Linked DNA regions of Homo sapiens: all the other regions are linked to region 3. Evidence: promoter capture Hi-C in human tissues and cell types (Jung and others, 2019). All regions are on one chromosome and are shown on one strand. The core of a region is centred on a gene start or on the middle of the fragment in contact, and the rest is flanking DNA. Distances in the headings are between cores, read along the strand shown. Region 1 overlaps CTDSPL2 (CTD small phosphatase like 2). Region 2 overlaps GOLM2 (golgi membrane protein 2). Region 3 holds the start of SERINC4 (serine incorporator 4). Region 4 has its middle 4.7 kb from the start of TRIM69. Region 5 overlaps SPG11 (SPG11 vesicle trafficking associated, spatacsin). Region 6 holds the start of CTDSPL2 (CTD small phosphatase like 2).

What was found. The method cuts DNA at HindIII sites, captures the fragments that hold promoters and counts their contacts. A contact is called where the count stands out against the background at its distance.
Region 1: a fragment that was not itself captured here is called in contact with the fragment with the promoter of SERINC4 in region 3 in 2 of the 25 tissues and cell types used here (hippocampus and mesenchymal stem cells).
Region 2: a contact is called between a fragment that was not itself captured here and the fragment with the promoter of SERINC4 in region 3, in 1 of the 25 tissues and cell types used here (dorsolateral prefrontal cortex).
Region 4: a contact is called between a fragment that was not itself captured here and the fragment with the promoter of SERINC4 in region 3, in 1 of the 25 tissues and cell types used here (dorsolateral prefrontal cortex).
Region 5: a contact is called between a fragment that was not itself captured here and the fragment with the promoter of SERINC4 in region 3, in 1 of the 25 tissues and cell types used here (heart right ventricle).
Region 6: the fragment with the promoter of CTDSPL2 here is called in contact with the fragment with the promoter of SERINC4 in region 3 in 1 of the 25 tissues and cell types used here (dorsolateral prefrontal cortex).

What each region holds. Positions count from the first base shown.
Region 1 is chr15:44,466,295-44,468,994 of GRCh38, forward strand. All of the region lies in intron 2 of CTDSPL2 (CTD small phosphatase like 2), which reads left to right. Among named protein-coding and RNA genes, the nearest start is that of CTDSPL2, 40 kb to the left of the region's middle. The HindIII fragment of the contact is 6,187 bases long and covers 1-2,700 here.
Region 2 is chr15:44,315,743-44,318,442 of GRCh38, forward strand. The region is part of intron 1 of GOLM2 (golgi membrane protein 2); the gene reads left to right. Among named protein-coding and RNA genes, the nearest start is that of GOLM2, 28 kb to the left of the region's middle. The HindIII fragment of the contact is 5,521 bases long and covers 1-2,700 here.
Region 3 is chr15:43,798,970-43,801,669 of GRCh38, forward strand. SERINC4 (serine incorporator 4) reads right to left here and starts at 1,251. Exons shown (of 12, transcript NM_001258031.2): 1 at 916-1,251; 2 at 341-517; 3 at 1-168. The coding sequence starts at 1,017. HYPK (huntingtin interacting protein K) reads left to right here and starts at 1,630. Exons shown (of 4, transcript NM_016400.4): 1 at 1,630-1,815; 2 at 2,163-2,218; 3 at 2,549-2,600. The coding sequence starts at 1,654. SERF2-C15ORF63 (SERF2-C15orf63 readthrough) reads left to right here. Exons shown (of 6, transcript NR_037673.1): 3 at 1,526-1,815; 4 at 2,163-2,218; 5 at 2,549-2,600. RefSeq lists enhancers at 348-1,048, 1,049-1,749, 1,657-1,906. The HindIII fragment of the contact is 6,811 bases long and covers 1-2,700 here.
Region 4 is chr15:44,730,524-44,733,223 of GRCh38, forward strand. It overlaps the pseudogene RNF4BP. Among named protein-coding and RNA genes, the nearest start is that of TRIM69, 4.7 kb to the right of the region's middle. The HindIII fragment of the contact is 3,243 bases long and covers 1-2,700 here.
Region 5 is chr15:44,582,868-44,585,567 of GRCh38, forward strand. It overlaps SPG11 (SPG11 vesicle trafficking associated, spatacsin), which reads right to left. Exons shown (of 40, transcript NM_025137.4): 30 at 947-1,691. Among named protein-coding and RNA genes, the nearest start is that of EIF3J, 47 kb to the left of the region's middle. RefSeq lists a silencer at 1,528-1,577. The HindIII fragment of the contact is 6,491 bases long and covers 1-2,700 here.
Region 6 is chr15:44,426,186-44,428,885 of GRCh38, forward strand. CTDSPL2 (CTD small phosphatase like 2) reads left to right here and starts at 1,444. Exons shown (of 13, transcript NM_016396.3): 1 at 1,444-1,587. LOC124903479 (a long non-coding RNA gene) reads left to right here. Exons shown (of 3, transcript XR_007064605.1): 3 at 109-132. RefSeq lists enhancers at 346-953, 608-837, 954-1,561, 1,118-1,497, 1,562-2,168. The HindIII fragment of the contact is 11,921 bases long and covers 1-2,700 here.

The sequences.
Region 1 (2,700 bases), core at 197-2,696, 670 kb after region 3:
ATGAGCCACCACACCTGGCCTTATTAAGTTTCTTTAACTACTTGATTAATTGAAGTAATTTGCCACTTACTATGGAATGAAAAAAAATCAGCTCAGACTAACTGGTGGAATTTATGGAGGAAACGACAGTTTAAGATTCATTCATATTCATTCATTCTCTTCCCACCACCACACACACAAGCATGTATTTATATTTAGTCATGTGTCACTTGACAATCTGAAATGCACTAATTGGCAATTTTGTCATCATGTGAACATCATAGTACTTATGTGAATCTAGATGGTGTATTCTACTACTTATCTAGGCTATGTGGTATAGCTTTTTGCTCCTAGGCTACAAACCTGTACAGAATGTTACTGTACTGATTGGCCGGGCGCGGTGGCTCATGCCTATAATCCCAGCACTTTGGGAGGCCGAGGCGGGCGGATCATGAGGTCAGGAGATCGAGACCACAGTGAAACCCCGTCTCTACTAAAAATACAAAAAAAAAAAAATTAGCTGGGCATGGTGGCGGGCGCCTGTAGTCCCAGCTACTCAGGAGGCTGAGGCAGGAGAATGGCGTGAACCTGGGAGATGGAGCTTGCAGTGAGCTGAGATTGCACCACTGCACTCCAGCCTGGGTGACACAGCGCGACTCCGTCTCAAAAAACAAAACAAAACAAAACATAATGTTACTGTACTGATTATCATGGGCAGTTGTAACACAATGTTAAGTATTTATGTTTCTCAGCATAGCTAAACATAGAAAAGAAACAGTAAAAATAGAGTATTATAATCTTACGAGACCACTGTTCTATATGTGGTCTGCTGTTGACTGAAACATTGTATGGCACATGATTCTATTGCCTTGCTCTGTCTGCTGAACTGTGTGCACATAGCACCCAGATCTTGGTTTCTAAATACTGTTCTCCACTAAAGGAACTAGGGTTCTGTCTTGTTTTATGCATATATAATTATGTCATATGCCAAATAATGAGAGTTTTGCTTACCCTTTGTCATCACTGGGACTTATTTTTTTCTTCACTTATTACATTGGTTAGGATCTGTATTACCATGTTCAGTAGCAGTGGTGAGAACAACACCCTTGCCTTGTCCTTAGGGGAAGAGAATTTGTTTTACCATTAGGTATGATGTTAGCTAGATGTTTTTCTTAGTTATCTTTTATTAGTTGGTGGAAGTTCTTTTCTATTCCTGTTTGTAAAATGTTTTTATTTTGTTGTTGAGTTTTCTCAAAGGCTTTTTGGCTTCAGATTTCTCTTATTCTTTTCTTATTTATTTATTTATTTTATTTTTTTTGAGACGGAGTCTCACTCTCTCGCCCAGGCTGGAGTACAGTGGTGCGATCTCAGCTCACCACAACCTCTGCCTCCTGGGTTCAAGCAATTCTCCTGCCTTAGTCTCCCAAGTAACTGGGATTACAGGCACGTGACACCATGCCTGGCTAATTCTTTGTATTTTTAGTAGAGATGGGGTTTCACCATGTTGGCCAGGCTGGTCTTGAACTCCTGACCTCAAGTGATCTACTCGCCTCGGCCTCCCGAAGTGCTGGGATTACAGGCATGAGCCACTGTGGCAGGCCCCTCTTATTCTTTTAATGTAGAGTAGTACATAAATTTTTTTTTGAATGGAAATCGTAACTTGGAGTTGATTTGCTGGGGATTTTTTTTTAAGAATTTTTGTATCTGTATTCATGGAGGATTTCTTCTGTAGTTTTGTCTTGATTTGTAATGTTTTTAAATTTTGGGATTAAGATTAAGCTGGTGCCATAAAACAAGTTGAGGACTGTTCCTCCTCTTCTGAAAGAGCTTGTGTTCGATTGGTGTTATTTCATTCTTAAATATTTGGCAGAATTCACTGTTGAATTCTGGAGTGGGATTTCTAAAATGTAACTGGAATTTTCTTTGTGGGGTATCTTTTACTGTAATTTAGTTTCTCTAATATAGATGAGATTATTTAGCTTTTCTCTTTCTTGTTTTAGTCATACATGTTTTTAAGGAATTTAAGTTGATTTATTTGACATCATATTTTGTTGGTATTTATTAATTTAATACTGTCTATAGAATTTGTAATGGTGCTCCTCTTTTCATTCCTGATCTAGATAATTTATTGATCTTTATTTTGATGAGTCTTGCTTGGGTTTATCAATTTCATTATTCGTTCAAAGGGATTTTTAATATTAACTGTTCATTCTGTTTAATTGATTTCCACTATTTTCAGTATTTTCTGTTTTCAGTTTGATTTACTTTTACTTTTGTAGCTTCTTGAAGTGAGAGCTTAAATCAGATATCAGTAAACATTTTCTATAAATATTTCAGGTAAGAAATATTTTAGGCTTTGTGGACAATATTGTCTCTGTTGCAGCTACTATTCAACTGCCACTGTAGACGGCTACATAAATGAATGAACATGGCTTTGGACACGGGTACAGTAGTTCCCCCCTATCTTTGGTTTTGTGTTCCATAGTTTTAGTTACCTGTGGTTGCCAGGGTCTGAAAATATTAAATGGGAAATTTCAGAAATAATTGGTAAGTTTTAAATTAGTCACCTTTCTGAGTAGCATGATAAAATCTTACATCATCCTGCTCCATCACAACTGGGACATTAATCATCCCTTTGCCCGAGTATCCATATGTATATGCTGTACTCCTGTTAGTCACTTAGTAGCTTTCTTGTTTATCATATCAGCTGTGTAGATACCA
Region 2 (2,700 bases), core at 153-2,652, 520 kb after region 3:
AAGGATAATTGGCCTATTATAGATGGACTCAAAATCCCAAAGAAACAAGTATTACAAAAAGAGAGGGATAAGGTAAAGCCTAAAGGCAATGACGGCGATAACAAGGGGAAATAAATGAAGGCGCTCAAAAGAAACCTTGAAGAATAATTAAAATTGTGCAAATATGGATAAAGTATAACTTAAGGTAGGAGAGTGTGTAGTACAAAGAGTATGGGACATAAAAGTCTAGGGGATCATTGAGCAAACATTTATTCAGTGTTTATGGGTATCAGGAAGTTTATGTGCTGTTACCTGTGTGGAATATATTTAGAAAAAAAGTGAAAATATTCTGGAAGCATGATCAGTTCAACAGAGAATATGTGTGGCAAAATGAAGATAATCTCTTTTTCTAGTCATGTAATAGTAAGAACTCCAATTAATTTCTCAACAGCAGGGACGTTTTGGCAGTCATTTAGAAGATAAGCATATTCCTAATGACCACAAGGAAATTAAAACTGTGAGGAGAGAGCTGGGTGTGGTGGCCTGAGCCTGTTGTCACAGCTACTGAGTTCGAGTTCAGCCTGGGCAACACAGTGAGACTCCATCTCTAAAAAAAATGAAAAAACAGTGAACTATGAGAAGGAATAGTTAGAAGGGAAGTTAAGCTTTCTTTTGAAGGTGAGGGGATGGTGGTGGAGATATTAAATGAAGGCTCTCAGAGGAAGGGTTAAAGCCAAAGGAGTTAAAGAGCTGGCCCGGCGCGGTGGCTCACGCCTGTAATCCCAGCACTTTGGGAGGCCGAGGCAGCCAAATCACGAGGTCAGGAGTTCCAGACCAGCCTGGCCAACAGGGTGAAACCCCGTCTCTACTAAAAATACAAAAACTTAGCTGGGCGTGGTGGCAGGCGCCTGTAATCCCAGCTGCCCAGGAGGCTGAGGCAGGAGAATGGCATGAACCCGGGAGGTGGAGGTTGCAGTGAGCCGAGATTGTGCCACTGCACTCCAGGCTGGGCAACAGAGTGAGACTCTGTCTCAAAAAAAAAAAAAACAAAAAAGAGCTAAAAGACCAGACTGGGCAACATGGCAAAACCCTGTCTGTACCAAAAATACAAAAATTTAGCCAGGAGTGGTCATCTGTGCCTGTGGTCCCAGCTACTCGGGAGGCTAAGGTGGGAGGATCACATGGGCTTGGGAGGCAGAGGTTACAATGAACTGAGATTGTGCTACTACACTCCACCCTGGGTGACAGAGGGACCCAGGCTGAATATATATATTCAACTATAGATTGAATTTCCCCACCTCCATTAGAATTTTTTTCCAATGTATAAGAATATGAAAGAGACAGTTCAGGGAAGCTGAAGCCACTCACAGCCTAATATTTAAGAAGAGCATACCTCTACCAATTTCAGAAGCAGATTTAAAATGGAGTACAGAGAACCTGGCATAGCATCATAAAAATTGATTTAAAAAAGTGAGACCCCCCCATCTCTACAAAAGACAAAAAAAATTATCTGGGCGTGGTAGCACATGCCTGTGGTCCCAGCTACTTGGGAGGCTGAGGTGGGAGGATCTTTTGGGCCTGAGAAATCAAGGTTGCAGTGAGCTGTGGTCATGCCACTGCACTCTAGCCTGGGCAGTAGGGCAAGACCCTGTCTCAAAAAAAGTGTTTTTTTAAATAAAAAACCAAAGTGTTGAAAATGAATACAAAGGAAGATGATGTTCTTGGAAGGGCAACAAGTACAAAAAGAGATTAGGTTCTGCAAATGAAGGAATTGGGAAACAAAGTAAAATACAGGCTAATTGGAAGTTATTACGGAGCAGTTCTGAGTGAGCAAACTGATCAAATACTGTAGTTGTTGGTGTCAGGTTTTTTTTGCTTCCCCTGTAGCTTTCCCTCAGTGATCTCATTCCTATGACCTGGATTACCATTTGAATGTGAATGGCTCTCTGGTCGTCGCCCGAGCTCCATATGTCCAACTGCCTACTGAAGATCTCTTCTTGGATATGTCACAGATGCCTCAAAATCAATAGGTCAAAATCTCAAAAAATCATTTCCCCAATTCTCTCCCTGACCCCAAGTCTGTTCCTCTTCCTGTGTTTCCCTATTACAGAAAATTATATTCTTACTCATCTAGTCACCCCGATTAGAAATCTAAGCATCATACTTGATGTTTCTCCTTTTACGCCTGTATATAATCAATTCCACAAGACTATTCTTCCCCTTTAATATCTCACATGTATTTACCTCTCTTTTCTGATTCTATTAGTTTAGACCAGAAATTGAAAAGACCTTTTCTGTAAAAGTCCAGATAGTAAATACTTTAGGCTTTGCAGGCCATATAGTCTCTGCCACAACCACTGTAGCTCAAAAGCAGCCACATACAATATGTAAACAAATTAGTGTGGCTATTTTCCCATAAAACTTTATTTGTAGACACTGAAGTTTCATTTTCATGTAATTCATATATCATAAAATCTTCTTTTGATTTTTTCCTTCAGCTATTTAAAAAAAAATGTAACAGTCATCCTTAGCTTCCTTCCCTACAAAAACAGGCTCACAGGCCATAGTTTGCCCACCTCTGACTTAGACCAACATTCTCACCTATGATATGGCAGTAGTACTTGGTCTCCCTCCTTCTCATCTTGCCCACTCTGGTCTACTCTTCATGTTGCAGCCAGATTGACTTTTTAAAATTGCAAATTGGGACTGGGTGTGCGTGGC
Region 3 (2,700 bases), core at 1-2,500:
CTGTGCCCGCGGGCTGGTGGGGGAGTGGAGGTGGACCAGCAACACAGCCTGCAGCAGGTGGAAGGTGGCGGTTCCTGCACATACTCGGTACACAGCCCCAGAGCCACTGAGCACTGGACAGTCAGAGAGGCCAAACAGGTGGGCACACAACCCCGAGGGCATCTGGATCTGGGAGTGTGTGTGAGAGAAATGGCAGGACAAGTCATAATGCATGGAAAGGTACCTACTTGTCACGGGTATGACCACTCATTTGTCTCCTGCCCCCAACCGAAACCTTTTCTATCTTAGGGTTTTTCCTTTTATCTCTTCCCACCTGACAACCCGACCCCCTCTCACTTACCCTGTGTGTCTTGCCCCACACCCTTTCCACTACTGTCCTTGACAGCAGGAGGCAGCAGATTGCTGAGGCCCCCACATGGAGGAGGATGTAGAACAGGCGGCTGCAAGTGGATGCGGTGAGAGAGGGCCACCTAGAGTGGCAGCAGCTGGCACAAGGAGCAGGCCCACAGCAGCACACCTGGGAGTAGAGCAGATGCAAGGCAGCGAGGTGGAGACTTGCTGAGGAAAGGCATACGTTAATGTATGTGTGAGGTTAACCCAGGAGGTTGAATTCCAAAATTTCCCCTTCCCCTTTCTTCCTTTTACTCAGGTTCTGTTTCAAGCTGATTCCAGCCATTTGGGATTGCCGCCCACTGACAACTTAGTAGGGCTTTCATTATAAGCAGGCTTGAGATATCTGACCTTTCTCTCGACCTAAACACCTGGGGCTGGAAACATGGCGGGAGAGATTTACAGATTATACCTGGGGCAACGAACCAGAACGACATTAGAGGAGAAAAGAGGCCTGTCGTTTTTATTGGCTTCTGCACGTCTTCCTCCCCAGCTTCGGCCACTCTCCCCTTCGCACCCTCTCACCTGACAGAAGGGACTTTTCACTAGGACACTGCTGCCTCCGCTGTGCTGCTGTGCCAGGCCCAGGGAGGTGCCGGGGCTGGGGCCGGCCTTGGCACCCACCATCCTTGTCCCAGGGATTAGGCTTAGGTCCACCAGATGGAAGGCAGATGAGAGCAGCAGTTGCTTCTGTCCTCAGCCCATTGGACTGCCACTGTGTTGGGGCTGAGCACCCGGTCCCGGGCAGAATGGAGACGTCCGGAAGAGAACACTGACCTCCAGGTTGCGGTAAATGCAAATGCCCTGTGAAGGAGCTTTGTCCTTAGGGCCTCAACACTGCGGCCACTCAGGCTGTTCTCTCCAGATTAGGGGGCAGTTTGTCTATCTGGCCCCCTGTGGATTAGCATTCTTTATTGGTTTAGGATTAGACGTCATTCAGGTTGAACGGAGTTCCCTGAGGTGGGTGGGTGCGTGTTTATGTGTTGAGGGGACTATTCCTAGTTTATGAGGTGGTTAAGGATATCGGTGGGGTGGGCTGGAGCGGTGTCGGGTTAGGTCTGAGAGAAGGCCTCGCACAAAACACTGTACAAACCCGAAAGGAAGTCTGAGAGACGAACCGCCTTCCTCCCTGAAGCTTCTAGAACTGGAGCAGAAAGAAGGTGTGGCCCAGGGCCAGCCCCGCCTCCTCCCCGGGCGGAAGCTGTGTCAGTTGCCGGAAGTCGGCGTGAGGTGGGGCTTATGCGGCGGCGTGGTGAAATAGATATGGCGACCGAGGGGGATGTGGAGCTGGAGTTGGAGACTGAGACCAGTGGACCAGAGCGGCCTCCGGAGAAGCCACGGAAACATGACAGCGGTGCGGCGGACTTGGAGCGGGTCACCGACTATGCAGAGGAGAAGGAGATCCAGAGTTCCAATCTGGAGACGGTAAGGTTGGCCAAGAGCATGTCGGGGCGGGCTGAGAGCAGAGGGGGGCTCTGAGGCTGTAGCTGGAAGCCAGCGCTCCAAGACGGGGTTCTGATCCCGTTGGCAGGAGGAGGCAATAGGGTAGAGCCGAGGGAAACAGCGGTCACCGGAGCGCGCCGCTTGCCTAAAGGAGCTTGATAGTGGGCTTAAGGGGACCTCAGGTGCATAGAATGGAATTAAACATAGTCCTTGCTACCTGGTAACACTTGTCATCGTGAATCCATGCATGAACCGCTTGTTTTGTTGGCCTTTTAGATTATTGGGAATTGTGGGTAGCGGTGCAGTAACTAGACCTGCCTTTCCCATAGGCCATGTCTGTGATTGGAGACAGAAGGTCCCGGGAGCAGAAAGCCAAACAGGAGCGGTAAGTCTTCAGGGGCAGCCAACTTTAACAGTTCTTCCCTCCCCGGTCCCCAGACAAAAATAAAAACCATTATTAAGCCTTTATACCGTTCTTCAAATTTATCACCAATTCCTGCAGATCTAGGCGCCACAACTTTACTCTTGTTAGCAGAAGGCCTCCTGGCAACACCTGCTGCCAAGACTCCAGGGGAAAGGAGTATTAGTGGGAGTTTTTATTTTCAATCAAGGGTTTATCAAGATTTATTTACAGGGCACTTCTGGGAATGACCCTTCCTGGGAGTTTATGGTGTTGGTTGAGAATGAGGACTAATATATTTAAATATTTTTGCAGGGAGAAAGAACTGGCAAAAGTCACTATCAAGAAGGAAGATCTGGAGCTAATAGTGAGTGGTAGTGCCTAACTAGTGTATGCGGAGGGGAGGCTATTCTGCTTAATTTGGGTTGTTTCCTGAAACAAGCGGAGTCAGTATATTTGGTGGCACA
Region 4 (2,700 bases), core at 158-2,657, 930 kb after region 3:
AAAAGTCACAGAGCCTAGACCCAAACCAAGCCTTTCTATGGCTAATGCTCGAACTCCATCCTCTCTTTCCTAGAAGGCAATCTGGGATAAATTTTTCAGAACTCCATTTGTTGCCTCTGTTAGAAAGAAAACACTGGGCAAGATGAACCTGCAAGTAGAGTAAATGGTTTATTTCTTATTTGCTTTTAGGAGTATGTAAGGAGATTTTTTGGTCTCCCGTTTTTACTTTATAAAAAATGAGTGAGTGGGCCAAGCGCTGTGGCTCATGCCTGTGATCCCAGCACTTTGGGAGACCGAGGCAGGCAGATCACCTGAGGTCAGGAGTTTGATATCAGCCTGACCAACATGGCAAAACCCCATCTCTGCTAAAAATACAAAAATTAGCCGGGTGTAGTGCCATGCACCTGTAATTCCAGCTATATGGGAGGCTGAGGCATGAACATTGCTTGAACCCCGGGGAGACGGAGGTTGCAGTGAGCCAAGATTGCACCACTGCACTCCAGCCTGGGTGACAGAGTGAGGCTCTTTCTCAAAAAAAAAAAAAAGGAAAGAGAAAGCTCTTAATTGAAGTAGTAACCCTTTCTTGGGTGTTCAATGATATTGTGCTTCTCTTCATGTAAGTGCCCCTTAGATTCCTCCTCCTCACTACCATCAGGTCATAGAATAGGGAGGGGCACTCAGTTTCAACAGCAGTGGCCTCCAAATTTTGTTCAAATGCATAACTATAAAAAGTTTTTTGTATACATTCTCTATATATAGCTATACATTTTATACATACACTACTATCAGTCTTGATTTAGACATTACTAAAGCTTAATTTTTCTCTCATTTTTTTTCAGTTAAAAATTCAGATTGAACTATCTTACAAATGGCTCCCAGAAGATCCACTCCCTGTGGGAACACAGCAGTTGTGGAAGTGAAGACAGGACTGGACCCAGAATAAGGGTTCAAATATGTGGGGAAATCTGACCTCTAAATTCTTATAAGTCAGAGAGTGACTGAACAACAGCAGTGAGACATCGAAGAGTTTTAATATCTGCTGTAAACCTTGGCACAGATCATTTACTTCTCTAAGACTGAATCCAAAAAGCACAATGGAATACTATAATAAGCTGAGACAGCATGGTGAATTCCAGACAAGCCTGAGCATTCCCTATAGCCAGAGAAGGAGGCCCAACACCTAACATAGCCTTGGATGCAGAACTGATAGAACTTGGGGAAAGTGATGAAGTAGTTGACCTCACCTGTGAATCTCTAGCACCTGTAGTGATTGACCTAACTCACCGTGACTCTGTAGTGATTATTGAACAAAGGAGGAGGCCAAGAGCAAACACAAGGCCACTCCAAGACCACACTGGCAGTTGTGTGGTGAACAATGATGAGGAGGGAGTGAAAAGGGACAGAGATGTATGTATAACCAACAGTGCCCACCATAATTCCCTGCAAAAAAATTTTTTTTGTCATATACTACCTGGTTATATTCAGTGTCAAGTTTGCATGGATGGATGCTCAGAGATTGAACTTAGTATACAACACATCTACTCTATAGAATGTGGCCACATCTGTAGTCAGTGCTTCTGCACTTCCTTTACACATACTAACACTGCCCAGTTTGTTTGAAAAAAATCAGCCTCCATCAGTATCACTGCAGTTATATATGATGTATGCCTTATTGCTCAAGACAGATCCTGTGGCTGGATTTTTCCATGTCTTTGTGCAGGAACTATGGGTTGTTGGCATCCAATGCTCTGAGCTTAAAAATACTGATTTTTAAAATTGCTATCTGCAGTATATAAGAAACTCTTTGATTTCTCATATGCTCTGAGACTGCTTTTTGTTTCCTTTGGTTTTATGCTTCAGCTCTGGACTTCAGTTGCCAGAGTGTGCCAGATACTGGGGTCGTCCTTAAAGCAACTTTCCCTTTCTTATAGTCATCAATTTTTAGTTGGCCACATGTGGACATTCTGGACCACATAAATAAAGACAACACCCTAGAGATGGTGAAGTAAGTTGTAAACTAAAATCCTAAGCCCCCTAATTGACTGAATGGAACCCCTCTTGACCAAAGTGACCCCAGAAAAACCTTAAAACTGAGTTCCTGGCCATGACGGGATGGGAGGTCAGACACGCTTCATTATATCTCCGTCTCTTTTATGGTTTAGACACAACAACTGACCAGCATTAATGTCAAAATAAAGATCATAAGGCTGACAGAATAGACCCTTTGTGGCAATAACAAATTATTCGTAAGATCTAAGGTCATGCCAGGCAAGTGTTATGTCATGCACTCCTACACTTAAAGAATAAACTATGTTCTAACTGCCACAAGATTTTCTATTTATTTATTTATTTATTTATTTTTTGAGACGGAGTTCTGCCCTGTCAGTTTTTCTTTTTGTTTAGCAGCTAAACAAGCACCAGCTGAGATAAGCAATTTTTTTTTTTTTTTTTTTTTGAGTCAGAGTCTTGCTCTGTCGCCCAGGCTGCAGTGCAGTGGCCCGATCTCGGCTCACTGTGAGCTCTGTCTTCTGGGTTCATGCCATTCTCCTGCCTCAGCCTCCCAAGTAGCTGGGACTACAGGCACCCACCACCACGCCCCGCTAATTTTTTTGTATTTTTAGTAGAGATGGGGTTTCACCGTGTTAGCCATGATGGTCTCCATCTCCTGACCTTGTGACCTGCCTGCCTCGGCCCCCCAAA
Region 5 (2,700 bases), core at 201-2,700, 780 kb after region 3:
TTTCAACATGATAAAGCCTGTCTTCAAAAACCTACAGCTAATACCATACTTAAATGATGAAAGATCAAATAATTTCCCTTTAAGGTCAGTAAAAAGGTACAGATGTCCACTCTCGCCACCCCTATCCAACACAGTACTGAAAGGCCTAGTCAGTGCAATAAAGCAAGAACAAGAAATAAAAGGCATACAGATTGGAAAGGCAGAAATACAACTCTATTTGCAGATGACATGAATGTCTATGTAGAAAATCTTGAGGAATCTACAAGAAATCTCCTAGAATAAGCAAGTTTAACAAAGTCATATAAAGGTAACATAAAAAACAGATTTCTGGCCGGGTGCGGTGGCTCACGCCCTATAATCTCGGCACTTTGGGAGGCCGAGGTGGACGAATCGCCTGAGGTCAGGAGTTCGAGACCAGCCTGGCCAACATGGTGAAACCCGGTCTCTACTAATACAAAAATTAGCCAGTAATCCCAGCTACTTGGGAAGCTAAGGCAGGAGAATCACTTGAACCTGGGAGGCGGAGGTTGCAGTGAGCTGAGACCACACCATTGCACTCCAGCCTGGGCGACAAGAATGAAACACCATCTCAAAAAACAAAAAACAAAAAACCAAAAAGAAAAACAAAAAGCCATATTTCTATATACTATCAATGTAAGACTGGAAATGATTAAATTTACAGATGTATAGAATATGTAGAATAAATTTCAGTGAACTAGCTACAAATCAGATAGATTCCCTTTAACTTTGAAACATAGCTAGTTTAAAAGACATAGATCTTTCTATTTCATTGCCTAGTTAATTGGCTAGTCTACAGATTACCTGGAAAAAAGTTGTTGTCCCCTTAACTTGGTAGAACTATTCTGCCACAAGGGTCCCTTCCTTCTTGGAGACAGTGCTAACAGTGCCATTTAAGACTCTGGGCCATCTGATCTCCTTCACTTACTGCTGTGGACTCTCCTTAGGGGAATGTCGGGTGCTTCTTCCTCAAGCAGCTCAGCACTTTGTAGGAGAGCATGGATCTCTGGGTGCAGATCCTCCATACTAGCTTCCCCTGAGGCCAGTGCTCTGCAGTGCAATACCAAGGCGACATCTGGATTATAAAAATGAAAATACCGGCATACTCTACTTGCTTCATGCACACAGCCATCATCCAGTAGGCGCCCAATCAAAAAGTTTAGTGACTCCTGCTCTTTCCAATCCAATCTATTCTCGCATGTCTCTTTGGATGGAAGGCTGTTAAGTTCTAAGTATTTTGATGTGTTCAGAGCAGCCAACTTGGAGAAGGAAAACTCACTGGCTAAACTATCAAAGGAAAGTTCACCACTAGTTGAGATCTGTCGAGAAAATCTGGGCTCTGTTTCCTCCTGATTTCTTCCAAGAGTGTGCTGGGTGATGCGGCACAGCCAGATCTGCTTCTCCAGCTCCTCCAGCTTATCCAAGGGCACCACGTCCTCCTGGGCAAGCCAGTGCCCTGCCAAGGTGAGCAGCAGATGGCGCTCCTCCATGCTGCTCCATCCAGTTGGGTGCTCACATGCCACATGGGCCTGGGTTGAGAAAAAGGAAGAAGCTGCTTTGCTTGAAATTGAATTTTTCTTAAAATTCTCATGGCATTTTTTCCAGAAGTCAATTCTTGCTTGTTTTAGTGACCACTGTTCAATGTGTTTTAGGGTCTGCATTTCCTGTGTTATCTGTGAAATTTAACAAAGCAGATTTTAGCCTTTCTTGGATAAAAAAGTATCATAAATGCTAATGTTCCCTAAGTATATCATACTTGTTTGGACAGGGTCTCAGTCTGTCACCCAGGCTGGAGAGCAGTGGTGGCGATCACAGCACACTGCAGCCTCAACCTGCTGGACCCAAGAGATCCTCCCACCTCAGCCTCCCAGGTAGCTGGGACCACAGGTGTGTGCCATCATGCCTGGCTAATTTTTAATTTTTTGTAGAGACAGGGTCTCCCTATGTTGCCCAGGCTGGTCTTAAACTCCTGGGCTCAAGCAATCCTCCTGCCTTGCCCTCCCAAAGTGCTGGGATTATAGGCATGAGCCACTGCACCTGGCCTTATCATACTTGTTAAAACCAAATCAAATCAGAGAACAGAGATTTGGCTACAGATGACCCTAGATATTTTATCTGGAAAGTTATGGTATGAAAAACAATTCTTGATTGATCTCATGGAATGGGGTTTAAGTGGAAGCCCCCTTATATTTAATTCTATTCAAAGGAAAATAGTTGTAGCATATCCTACAAACTAATGTTACATTTGCAGCACACATTTCTCAATCATGGGAATTGTAGGCTCATCCATTTCTGAAAGTAATGTGTGTGTCAAAAGTAAAAAAAAAAGTCTTATCTCCTATAAATTATACATCTCATTTGATTTACTGTTTAATGCTGATTTTAAAAGCTAAGATTTTAAATAACTTAAAAAGACCAATGAGGCTGGGCGTGGTGGCTCACGCCTGTAATCCCAGCACTTTGGGAGGCAGAGGCGGGCGGATCACAAGGTCAGATCAAGACCATCCTGGCTAACACAGTGAAACCCCATCTCTACTAAAAATACAAAAAAAAAAAAAAAAAAAAATTCAGCCGGGCATGGTGGTGGGCACCTGTAGTCCCAGCTACTCGGGAGGCTGAGGCAGGAGAATTGCATGAACCCGAGAGGCGGAGCTTGCAGCGAGCGGAGATCGCGCCACTGCA
Region 6 (2,700 bases), core at 194-2,693, 630 kb after region 3:
AGACCCCCTCGCCGGCACTCTCATGTGTTTTACAACGCCTATCATGCCATCCTTGTATTCGCTTTATCAGTTTTTAAATTCTGTTTACTTGGGTGTCTTCTTCAATAGATTATGATCTTTGGCCGGGCGCGGTGGCTCACGCCTGTAATACCAGCACTTTGGGAGGCCGAAGCGGGCGGATCACGAGGTCAGGAGTACGAGACCAGCCTGACCAACGTGGTGAAACCCCGTCTCTACTAAAAATACAAAAATTAGCCGGTCGTGGTGGCGCGCGCCTGTAATCCCAGCTTCTCGGGGGGCTGAGGCAGAAGAATCGCTTGAACCCGGGAGGTGGAGGTTTGAGCCGAGATCGCGCCACTGCACTCCATCCTGGGCGACAGAGTGAAGACTCCGTCTCGAAAAAAAAAAAAAATCATTACCTTTGGGGAAGGCAGTATCCGTGTCTGCCTGGCTCACTGTTTTACCCGTCGCACCTAGTTATTTTTTCAATAAATATTTCTTGATTGAATAAGGAGAGTGGCTTGGAGTTTCAGTGAAAAATGTTCTTCCAAACACTAGGCTTGGTTTTCCGATACCCCACTAGAACTGGATTCTCTGGACTGATACATTTTCACTCTGTGGAGCTGACCGTCCTTTGACCTAGGGTCGCAGGTGGGAGCCCACTGGCCTGAAAGATCCGAGTTTTCAACCTGCAGAATCACCGCCAACATAGGGTTGAGTCGAAGGGCATGAATATTTATGATCCAAAAGCGACTGCTACGCCCTCTAGGCAATGAGCTGGAAAGGGAACCTTCAAGGGCCACCGAAATCCCAGGAAAGGCGCCAGATTCGCTTTCTCCCGGCCTCAGGCAGCTCTCCCTACGAACTACCTCCTCCAGCGCGCCAAGCCGTTAGTCCCGCCTTATCCCCTCAGCTCCACCTACCCAGCGCGCCCACAGTTACTAAACCCTAGCCGCCAGGGTGCACTACGCGTTCCTAAGCCCCGCCTCCGGGGCAAGGGCGCGCTCCCCCTCCCAGCTCTGCCCAAGCAGTTCCGTTAGGAGCGGGAGGAAAAACCGTCCTTCGGGTCCCCGCCTCTCCACTCCTAACGCTTTACTCCCTACTCCCCCTGCGACCACTACACAGCCGGCTACGGAGGCCCCTAATGTACAAATATCCCCCAGGCCCTTGCTCATCCTGATAGGTTTTGTCCTTTCTTAATCGACCCAGTACTAAGGCCTTGTGTTCAGTTTTTCTCCAGGATTCAGACTAGAGAGTTTCTTCCGGCGTAAGGAACTTCAACGCTCTTCACGGAAGTAAAAGTGTTTTTTTGGTTGTTGTTGCCGTTGTGGCTGCCCGCATTCCTTCCCTCCCACCTCGCGGAATTGTGGCGGGAGGGGGAGGAGGAAGTCAGGGCGCCTGCGCGGAGAGGCCGCTTTCCATCCGGGTCCCTGTCCGTGCGGTGCAGCAGGTCGGTAGGCGGGAAATGGCGACTGGCTGAAGGAGCTGGTTCTGTTGCTGCTGCGGGGTAAGCGGGAAAGACACCACACATTGCGCAGTCGGGACCATCGCCGGAGCCTGAGGACACTTCTCTGTCGTCACAGTTAGGTAATCCCCTTCGTCCAGACGCCGCCGCTGCTTCCAATCTCAGTCCTCCTCCTCTTCCAGGGCCGTCTGCCGGGATCTCCTCCCCTTCTAAACCTGGTCCTCCAGCGGCTCTGGCGCCTTGGTAGGCATGCACTCTTTGGCGCCTCGTACGTCCACTGTGCGGAGCCGCTCCTGTCTGGACTTTCCCCTGGGAACAGAAAGGGAGCTCACTTCCCGCCAGCTTCACCTCTTAGGTTGCGGCCTGCGTTGTGATTTCTGGGGTTAGATTTCACTTTGCTACCCACCCCCACTCCGATCTCAAGTTCCTAGTCCCCAACCTCTGGGTAATTAAGTTAGAAGTTTAGCTTTTTTTAACCTTTTTGGCCCACCTCATGTTTTCAGCATTTCATTCTTTGGAGTAGGGTGCTTTTAGGGGGGCGTTGCTCTTATCTCAGTTCTTATAAACACCTTTTCAGAATCTGGAAGAAGGGATTTGACTAAGTTCTGTTTATCTTTTGTACTGTTAAAATCTCGAGTTGACATTGTTACTTTTTCAAATCGGGAGTGGTAGTAAAGAACAGTCCATGTGGAAGGCGTCTGGTTTCCACAGTGGTCAGTTAAAGAGTGAACCTTATTATCCTTAATATTCTCTGCTTTCTTTGGATTTTAAATGTCTGTATGGGTGTTTACTTTTGCATTCTTGACCAGAGTTCTGTGGTAAATAATTGCATAAGTAAATCTTGTTTATTTACTTCTCACCCTAGTGGTGGCTGGATGTGTGAATGATGTTAAACACTTCAGCGTACCTTAGGGAAACCTAAAGAGATCTAAGAGCTCGTAAACTTACCTGAGATCCTGAAATGAAACGTACTCAGTAGATGTTCCTCCGAGGCAGGGATTTATCTTCCTAATGCTGGTAACGCAGTACCAAGATGAATTTCTTCAGTGGGTATACAAATTAGTGACTTGAAATGATGGATTTATCTGTGTAATTTTCAAATTGTAGATTGCTTTGTCTCCCCATTCTTCGCCCAGTTTTAAATTTTCGTTCCTGGTCCATTTTTTATTCTTAGAAAAGGGAAATGGCGTGTTAAAGCTAGTTTTACTATATTTCTTTACTTTTTCTTTCCTTTT